2 separate regions of the Homo sapiens genome follow, and region 1 is linked to region 2. Evidence: promoter capture Hi-C in human tissues and cell types (Jung and others, 2019). All regions are on one chromosome and are shown on one strand. Each heading gives the region's core, a stretch centred on a gene start or on the middle of the fragment in contact. The rest is flanking DNA. Distances are from core to core; before and after follow the strand shown. Region 1 holds the start of KCNAB3 (potassium voltage-gated channel subfamily A regulatory beta subunit 3). Region 2 holds the start of TNFSF12-TNFSF13 (TNFSF12-TNFSF13 readthrough).

The links. The method cuts DNA at HindIII sites, captures the fragments that hold promoters and counts their contacts. A contact is called where the count stands out against the background at its distance.
Region 1: a contact is called between the fragment with the promoter of KCNAB3 here and the fragment with the promoter of TNFSF12-TNFSF13 in region 2, in 1 of the 25 tissues and cell types used here (small bowel).

The regions. Positions count from the first base shown.
Region 1 is chr17:7,927,767-7,931,266 of GRCh38, forward strand. It overlaps KCNAB3 (potassium voltage-gated channel subfamily A regulatory beta subunit 3), which reads right to left and starts at 2,090. Exons shown (of 14, transcript NM_004732.4): 1 at 1,428-2,090; 2 at 17-60. The coding sequence starts at 1,669. TRAPPC1 (trafficking protein particle complex subunit 1) reads right to left here. Exons shown (of 4, transcript NM_021210.5): 3 at 3,245-3,383; 4 at 2,583-2,968. The coding sequence ends at 2,840. The HindIII fragment of the contact is 19,988 bases long and covers 1-3,500 here.
Region 2 is chr17:7,547,628-7,551,666 of GRCh38, forward strand. It overlaps TNFSF12-TNFSF13 (TNFSF12-TNFSF13 readthrough), which reads left to right and starts at 1,431. Exons shown (of 11, transcript NM_172089.4): 1 at 1,431-1,685; 2 at 1,847-1,894; 3 at 2,493-2,568; 4 at 3,172-3,225; 5 at 3,316-3,351. The coding sequence starts at 1,527. TNFSF12 (TNF superfamily member 12) reads left to right here and starts at 1,431. Exons shown (of 7, transcript NM_003809.3): 1 at 1,431-1,685; 2 at 1,847-1,894; 3 at 2,493-2,568; 4 at 3,172-3,225; 5 at 3,316-3,351. The coding sequence starts at 1,527. RefSeq lists silencers at 1,326-1,515, 1,546-1,625. The HindIII fragment of the contact is 9,091 bases long and covers 1,370-4,039 here.

The DNA of each region.
Region 1 (3,500 bases), core at 840-3,339, 380 kb after region 2:
CCCTATTCTGACTCACCTAGGCCAAGACAGGATACCCGAAGACCAGACTTCCCTAGGTTCCTGCAAGATACAGAAGCAGCGGGAAGGGGTGGAGCCTCCATTATGGACTTAGATTATCAGCCCCCAGCTCCTCTCCTTCCAGACTGAGAAGCCCTCAGGTGTCTCAGTCCAAAGAAATTAGACCCAGTGGGCCTATAAGATTGGGCAAGTGCTATCTCCAGAGCAGAGGTCCTAGGAATTTTCTCAAAAGGACAAGTGAACCATATGTGACTGTTCCTCTGGAGCCACTGTCCAGAGTCTCCATTCCCTCTTATCACATTGAAGACGTGCAGTCTGGTTTGTCCTTCTTCTGGGGTCTTGTCTGTGTTTGAGTCATCTGTGGGTTGTGTGCAGTGAGGGGCTGGGAGGAATTTTGTTTGATTGTGGTGAGTTTGTGAGACCAGGCCCTCAGGCAGAGTGCTGTGCCAAATGGTAGATGGCAGGTTGGAAGAGGTAAACCAAGTCAAGTTCAGGCATTCAGACAGACAGGGGTCCCTGGCTAGGCTAGGCAGATGGGCCTGGAGGAAAGGCAGATTGAGGACCTGGGGGGAGGGGGGAGAGTAAGACAGAAAAGCCTAGTTCTCCCTCTCCACTCCCTCTGTTCCTATTGACTTGTGAAGACTGTCTCTGAACCAGTGAGCCCCCTCATCCTCCCAAAGCCCCCAACCCAGGTGTCAGCTCAGCTTTCCAATCAGGGCCACCATATAGAGGGGATCAGATTCCTCAGGTGACAAAGCAGGTCAGATCAGTGACCTCAGCTCACTCCCAAGCAGGAGCCCCTCCTCTACCCCCTACTTCAGGTTCTGAGCTTCTGGTCTGGCAGTCCTCTGAGATAAAGTCAGTTACATTTCAGTCTACCCAGACCCTGTCCCTCAGCATGGAGATGAAAAATGTGGTCCATCCTTCCCACCGGCCCCACTCCCCTTGCACCCAAGAAAGGTCGCAGAAGACCTAGCCTTTGGGGCAGGCAGGGGCAGTATCTGGGTCAGGCACCCCGAGCAGGCCAGAGTGAGAAGCTGATTCCCTCCCTCCACTCCCCAGGACACGGACCCAAGGACACTCCACTGGAGGAGGCATAGCCTGGAGATCCGTGTAGCGTGGAGATCCATGCATCCCTGACCTTCCCAGGGGTAAGGAGGGAAGCTCAGGGGCATCCCCTGGGTCTGACAGGACCCAGTCAACCTTGGTAAACTTGATTCTCGTAGTCAGGGGTATCGACAGAAACCAAGAGAGGGACAAAGTGAGGGAGTGCCAGAGACAGAAAGAAGAGATGGAAAGAAGGGAGACCTACTTAGTGAAGTTTGAAGGGGTCTTGGCGGCCATCTCAAGCAGTCTCAGGGGTCCCGAAAGGAAAGCGGAAGGGGTGGGCTGCCCGGCCACCCCCATACCTGTATTTCATGCCAGTGCCTCGGCCGGTGCTCTCTCGGAGGGCCCCAGCGGGCGCTGGGGGTCGGGGAACCAGTGCAGCTCGGGCCTTGGGGCCAGACCCTCCACCCCCCGGAGGATTCCCGTGCCCCCCGCCGGCCGGCCCACCATTACCGCCCCCGGGGCCCGGCCGGGGTCCACACAGACGGTCCTCACTGCTCCGGCTGCGAAGGTTCTGCTCGGTACACGCGATAGACACCTGCATGCTGGCTGGCCGAGGCGGGGGAGGGGGCTCCGAGGGGACGGGAGGGGGGAGCAGGGAAGCCCGAGGGCTGACGACCGGGGGCGTAGTGGGGCGAACCCCGGCAGAGCGGGAAGGCTGAGGAGGCTGCGGCGGGAGCCGCCAGGCAGGATCGGGCCCGCGGGGGCGGGCTGCTGGAGGTCGCGAGGTTTGCGGCGGGAGGGAAGAAACGTGGGGGGCGCCAGGAGTGGAGATATTCAGTTACGGGGGACACAGGAGCAAGGATTAGGAGGGGGAAATGGATGAGGGTAAAGGTCGAGGATGAGGTAAAGGTCTCGGAGGATAAGGACCCAGGGGGAAGCGGGGCGGGAGAGAGATGCCACTTCAGCGCGAACCGCTGCGGGACCCGCTGGGCTCCCAGCCGCGTCGGCAGCGGGCCCAGCTCATCAGCATGCAGGCACCGCCTCCTCATCTGCATAGAGCCGCCCTCCTCTCAGCCAAACCTGCCGCTCATCTGCATAAGCCCCGCCTGCTGAAGGCTCTGCAGCTTGAATATTTTCTGAGCGGAATTGGGGAGGATGGCTCCTGCACCCTCTGGGACCCAAGGGCTGTCAGGCTTCCCCCGGCCCAGTGATTCTCAATCGGGAGGGAATGTATCTCCCAGCGTACTTTCGGCAAGGTTTGGAGATATTTTTGATTTCATGCCTGTGCTATCAGCATCTAGTGGGTGGTGGCCAGGGATGCTAAAATCCTACAAAGCACAGGACGGTCCCCACAATAAAGAATTATCCAGCTCAAAGCATCAATATTCCCACGGTTGAGAAACCCATCCGCAAAGCCACTTCGTGGCCCTCCAGGGGGTGTGGCTGCCCTACTTTCCACCTTCATGCGTGGGGCAGGACTGAGAGGGCCCTCAAACCAACACGCTCAGGCCGCAGAGAGTGACAAAAAGTTTATTCTGTGCTTCTCGCAGCATTAGGCAGGGGATAAAACTGGAGAGAGGGCCTGGTGTGGAGGTGGAGGGACTCTGTGGGCTTCACTCTGGTAGGAGGAGAGCATCAGGGCAGGCCTTTAGGCTGTTGCTCTGGGCAGGGGGTGGGGGTGCGGGGGCTTACAGTGGGGGCCCTTAGTTGGCACAGGTTCGGAAGGGCCCCAGGCAGACATGAATTCTCCTGAGACTTGAGGTAGGTTGCTTCAGCCAGCCCGGGCGGAGAAGAAGGGCAGAGAGCGAACATAGGAGTCCAGTCGGGAGCGAAAGAGCTCACTTTGCACAGTTTGGCCCAGCGGGCACAGGGGATTCTTCACCACCAGCTCCACATACAGCTATGGAAAGGGAAGATGTTAGAGCCAGGCTTTGGATACTTCTGGTTTTTAGCCCCAAACCTTGTATAACCTCAGGGGTGTGTGAATGCACAAGGAATAAGGGCTGGAAGGCAAGCCCTCTCTGAGGAGAAAGTGGTGGTGGGAGTTAAGAACCTAAGGGCCCCTGAGAAAACTCTTGAGTTGAGCAAACATATAGTAGGATTGGGGCAGGGGAGATGAGGGAGTCTTGGGGTTCTGAAGAGCTCTGGGGGATGGGTCCCTGGGGCTGGCACTGACCGCACTGTAGATGTGGTGCAGCACATCTCGGATGGGTCCCACGCCCAAGTCAGTATTCATGACAACTTTGATCCCAGTGGGCGTCTCGTAGTAATGGAGTTTGTAACGGCTAGTTTGGAAGGCCAGGAAGCCATCCTTCCTGCAGAGATGAGGAGGGTGTTAAAGAATGGGAGCAGAATCTCTCCCAAAGAGACACTTCTGATCCCCGCAAACATCGACTCCCTCTTTATCTAAACATATCCTTTGTAGAAGCCTG
Region 2 (4,039 bases), core at 181-2,680:
TGCAGCCTCAACCTCCCAGGCTCAGGTGATCCTCCCATCTCAACCTCCTGAGTAGCTGGGACTACAGGCATGCACCACCATGCCCAGCTCTATGGATGCTTTTTCTTGACTCTCTTTAAGTATATTAGGTAGTACTCTTTGTATCCTGAATTATCTCTGTTTCCTCCAATGTCAAATTTTGTTTGTTAATTTTGGTCTTTCTTTCTTTTTTTTTTTTTTTGAGATAGGGTCTTGCTGTGTTGCCCAGGCTGGAGTGTGGTGGCGTGATCTCAGCTCTCTGCAACCTCTGTCTCCTGGGTTCAAGCAATTCTCTGCCTCAGCTTCCCGAGTAGCTGGGAACTACAGGCGCCTGCCACCACGTCCGGCTAATTTTTTTGTATTTTTATTAGAGACAGGGTTTCACCATCTTGGCCAGGCAGGTCTCGATCTCCTGACCTCGTGATCCACCCGCCTCAGCCTCCCAAAGTGCTGCGATTACAGGCGTGAACCATCGCGCCCAGCCAATTTTGGTCCTTCCTTCCTTCCTTCCTTCCTTCCTTCCTTCCTTCCTTCCTTCCCTCCTTCCCTCCCTCCCTCCCTCCCTCCTTTCTTTCTTTCTTCCTTTCTTTCTTTCTTTTTGAGACAAGGTCTGTTGCCCAGGCTGGAGTGTAGTGGTGCAATCACAGCTCACTGCAGCCTCAAACTCCTGGGCTCAAACAATCCTCCTACCTCGGCCTCCTGAGTAGCTGGGACTACAGGCGTGGGCTAATTTTTTAAAACTTTTCTGTAGAGATGGGGTCTTGCTCTTGCCCAGGCTGATCTTGAACTCCTGGCCCCCAGCCTTGGCCTTCTGGGATTACAGGCGTAAGCCACCTGCCGGACCAATTTTGGTGTTTCTTTTGCATGCTGCTGGTCCTCCTCAGATGCTTGGCAATCATTGGTAATGATGGGCTTCAGAACGTGCTACCGGCACAGTGAGTGTTTTAAGCTGAAGGAATTTGAGAAAACCGCAGAAGCCGAAGGATCTTTCTTACCTTCTCCTGCCCTTCTTCCCTGAACCAGGTCATACAACCTGGAACTCCCTGCCCTTTTCCTGAAGAAGCAAATAACAGCCTCCTGCGAGAGGCGCCCTCCCTGCACCTGGGGGAAAGGAGGGTCCTTATCTCTGAAGACACAGGGACACAGAAGAATCTGAACCAACAGGCCTTCCTGAGTTCCCCACCTCCCCGCAGGAGGTGCCCGCACACGCATAGCCCCGTCGCTCCCGCGGCCGCACGCAACGGACCTCGCCCTGGTGGTGCACGCCCGGGCTGGGCGCTCAGAGGTCGGGTGGGCGCCCACTCCGTTCGCTGCGCGCACAGCGCCCGGCGAGAGGCTCGGAGTTTGATCACACACAGCGTCCGGCTTCCTGTCCCCAGCGCCCCCTCCCGCCCCGTTTCCCTTGCCCCTCCCTCTCCCCGGCCCGATCCGCCCGCCGGCTCCCCCTCCCCCGATCCCTCGGGTCCCGGGATGGGGGGGCGGTGAGGCAGGCACAGCCCCCCGCCCCCATGGCCGCCCGTCGGAGCCAGAGGCGGAGGGGGCGCCGGGGGGAGCCGGGCACCGCCCTGCTGGTCCCGCTCGCGCTGGGCCTGGGCCTGGCGCTGGCCTGCCTCGGCCTCCTGCTGGCCGTGGTCAGTTTGGGGAGCCGGGCATCGCTGTCCGCCCAGGTGAGGCCCCGCTGCGCACCCCTTCTTGGGCACATCAGGAGCTGAGACTGCAGAGGGGCCGCTGGGGGCCGCGTGGGCTGAAGGCAAGGGGAAGGGAGGATGGGTGGAGGGTGAGATGTCAGGTGGAGCGGCACAGGGTGACGCTCCCTCCTTCCCAGCAGGAGCCTGCCCAGGAGGAGCTGGTGGCAGAGGAGGACCAGGACCCGTCGGTGAGTGGGCGTGGGCGCGGTCTGCAGGCTGCTGGGGCATGGGAAGTGTGCACAGCCGAGGCTGCAGGTGTGTGCAGCTGTGCCAGCCGTACTCGAGGTGTGTGCAGGGTGTGTGTGAACACAGTGCGTGCATGGGTGCGTGTCTGCAGGGGTGTGTGTGCGTGGTGACAACTCTGTGTGAGGGGTTTGTGCTGGGGTTGTGCCACCTGAGTCTGAGGTGTTTATTGGCTGGGGGTGACGTGGTTGTATAAGATATGTGAGTCTGCGTGGAAGAGGGGTGCGGTTGTGTACAGGGTGTGTATCCTCTGTGCGTGGTGACTGGGTGCGGGCATGTGTGCAATGTGCCAATTGAATGCAGGGTCTGCGTTGGTTGTGTGTGTGGGTGGGAAAGTGTAGCTGGTCTAGAGGAAAGGGTGAGGACTGGGGCCTGACTCCCAGCTTCACCTTTGCCCGGGGCCCCAGCTGTAGTTGGCTGAGGGGCTTAATCTGTCCCTGACTTCTGTGTCTATTGCTGGCTGGTGGCTCTCCTGACAGGCCCCGTATGTCTCACTTTATATCTCTGGGAGTCTGTGGTTGAACCCTGCCCTAATTCCCCTAGGAACTGAATCCCCAGACAGAAGAAAGCCAGGATCCTGCGCCTTTCCTGAACCGACTAGTTCGGCCTCGCAGAAGTGGTGAGCATCCCTCTATCCCAACCTCAGGAAGCGGGCAGAGCAAAAACCATTATCCACAGGGAGAAACTGAGGCACGGAGGGTGAAAGGAGTTCAGAGTCATGCAGCTAACCAGCCAAGACTCAAACCTAGGGATTCTCGCCCTCCTCTGAAGCTCCTTCTGTCATATGGATGTGCTCCTTCAGACCCTACCCCAAACAGGAAGGCAGGGTGGCCATGAGTTAGAAGAACTACTGGGATCCTGATGGAGACTAGGCCTGGCAGTCAGAGGCCTGGGCCCCGGTAGGCAAAGAGACTTAGGAATGGGATGATGGGGTGGCCGGATGACCACGTGTCCAAGTCGGCATGCAGTTGTCCTGGCCCCCACCTGTTATCTCGGTGTGATTAATAGCAGCTTCCCGTTTTGCTCTCAGCAGTATCCCAGTGTGGATGACAAATTATAGTCACTCTACTTACTGAGGAAGATGAGGCCTGAGATTCTAAGGCCAGGAGTCTGGACAAGAATAAGGATGCCAGGGTTCCTGAGAGGGGAATGGGGCTGGGAGAGTTGCTCTGGGACCCCCACTAGGGCCCGCTTTGCTCATCTGTCTTTCCTTGATCCTCAGCACCTAAAGGCCGGAAAACACGGGCTCGAAGAGCGATCGCAGCCCATTATGAAGGTGGGTGATGGGTGAGCCATACCCAGGAGGAGAGGGGCAGGTGGCAGAGGGTCAGGGCAGGTCTCACCAGCCTTTTCCTGTACTTTACAGTTCATCCACGACCTGGACAGGACGGAGCGCAGGCAGGTGAGACCCCATCCCCCGACACAGCACTGGCCTCCTGGGAAAAGGGCCCTTGAAAACCTTTGACCTCCCACTCCCTTCCCGGCCATCAGTCTCAGAACCACAGAAGCCAGTTCATGAAGGTCTTGGTTCTCTCTGTGACCCAGGCGTGGGACCCCATGAAAGACCCCTACTCTTCCCCAGAACTCTGCCCAGTTCCCCCAGCAAATCACTGTCCCAGCTCTCTCCTTCAGCCCTCATTCTTCTCCAAGAAGCACTTTTCATTCTTTTTTCTTCTGTCTCCTCCATATTCCACGTTCTGATGATCTTTTTCTCTAAATGCTGCTAGTGTCTGCTCATCTTTTCCATTTCTACCCCACCCTCTACCTCAGCACCGTGACCTCAGAACCTCAAATCCAGCCTCTTGCTGCTTCCCCACTCCACACCCTCCCTACCCCTCCACTCCATCTGACCTGTGCTGCCATGCTGAGCCCCTAAACTTCACTTTTCTTGTGGTATTGGCTCTCTACATGGCTTCCAGTCTCTTCGTGGTCTGGTCTCAACCTAATTTCCCTGCACTCTTATGCTGTCTTCATGTTTGCTGCGCTGACACCCCTGCTCCCGGTGTGCCTCTTCTGGACTTTGCACATACCATCCCCCTCACCAGAATGTCTTTCCACTGTGAGAGGCAGGGAGGCATGAGGAGTGCTCA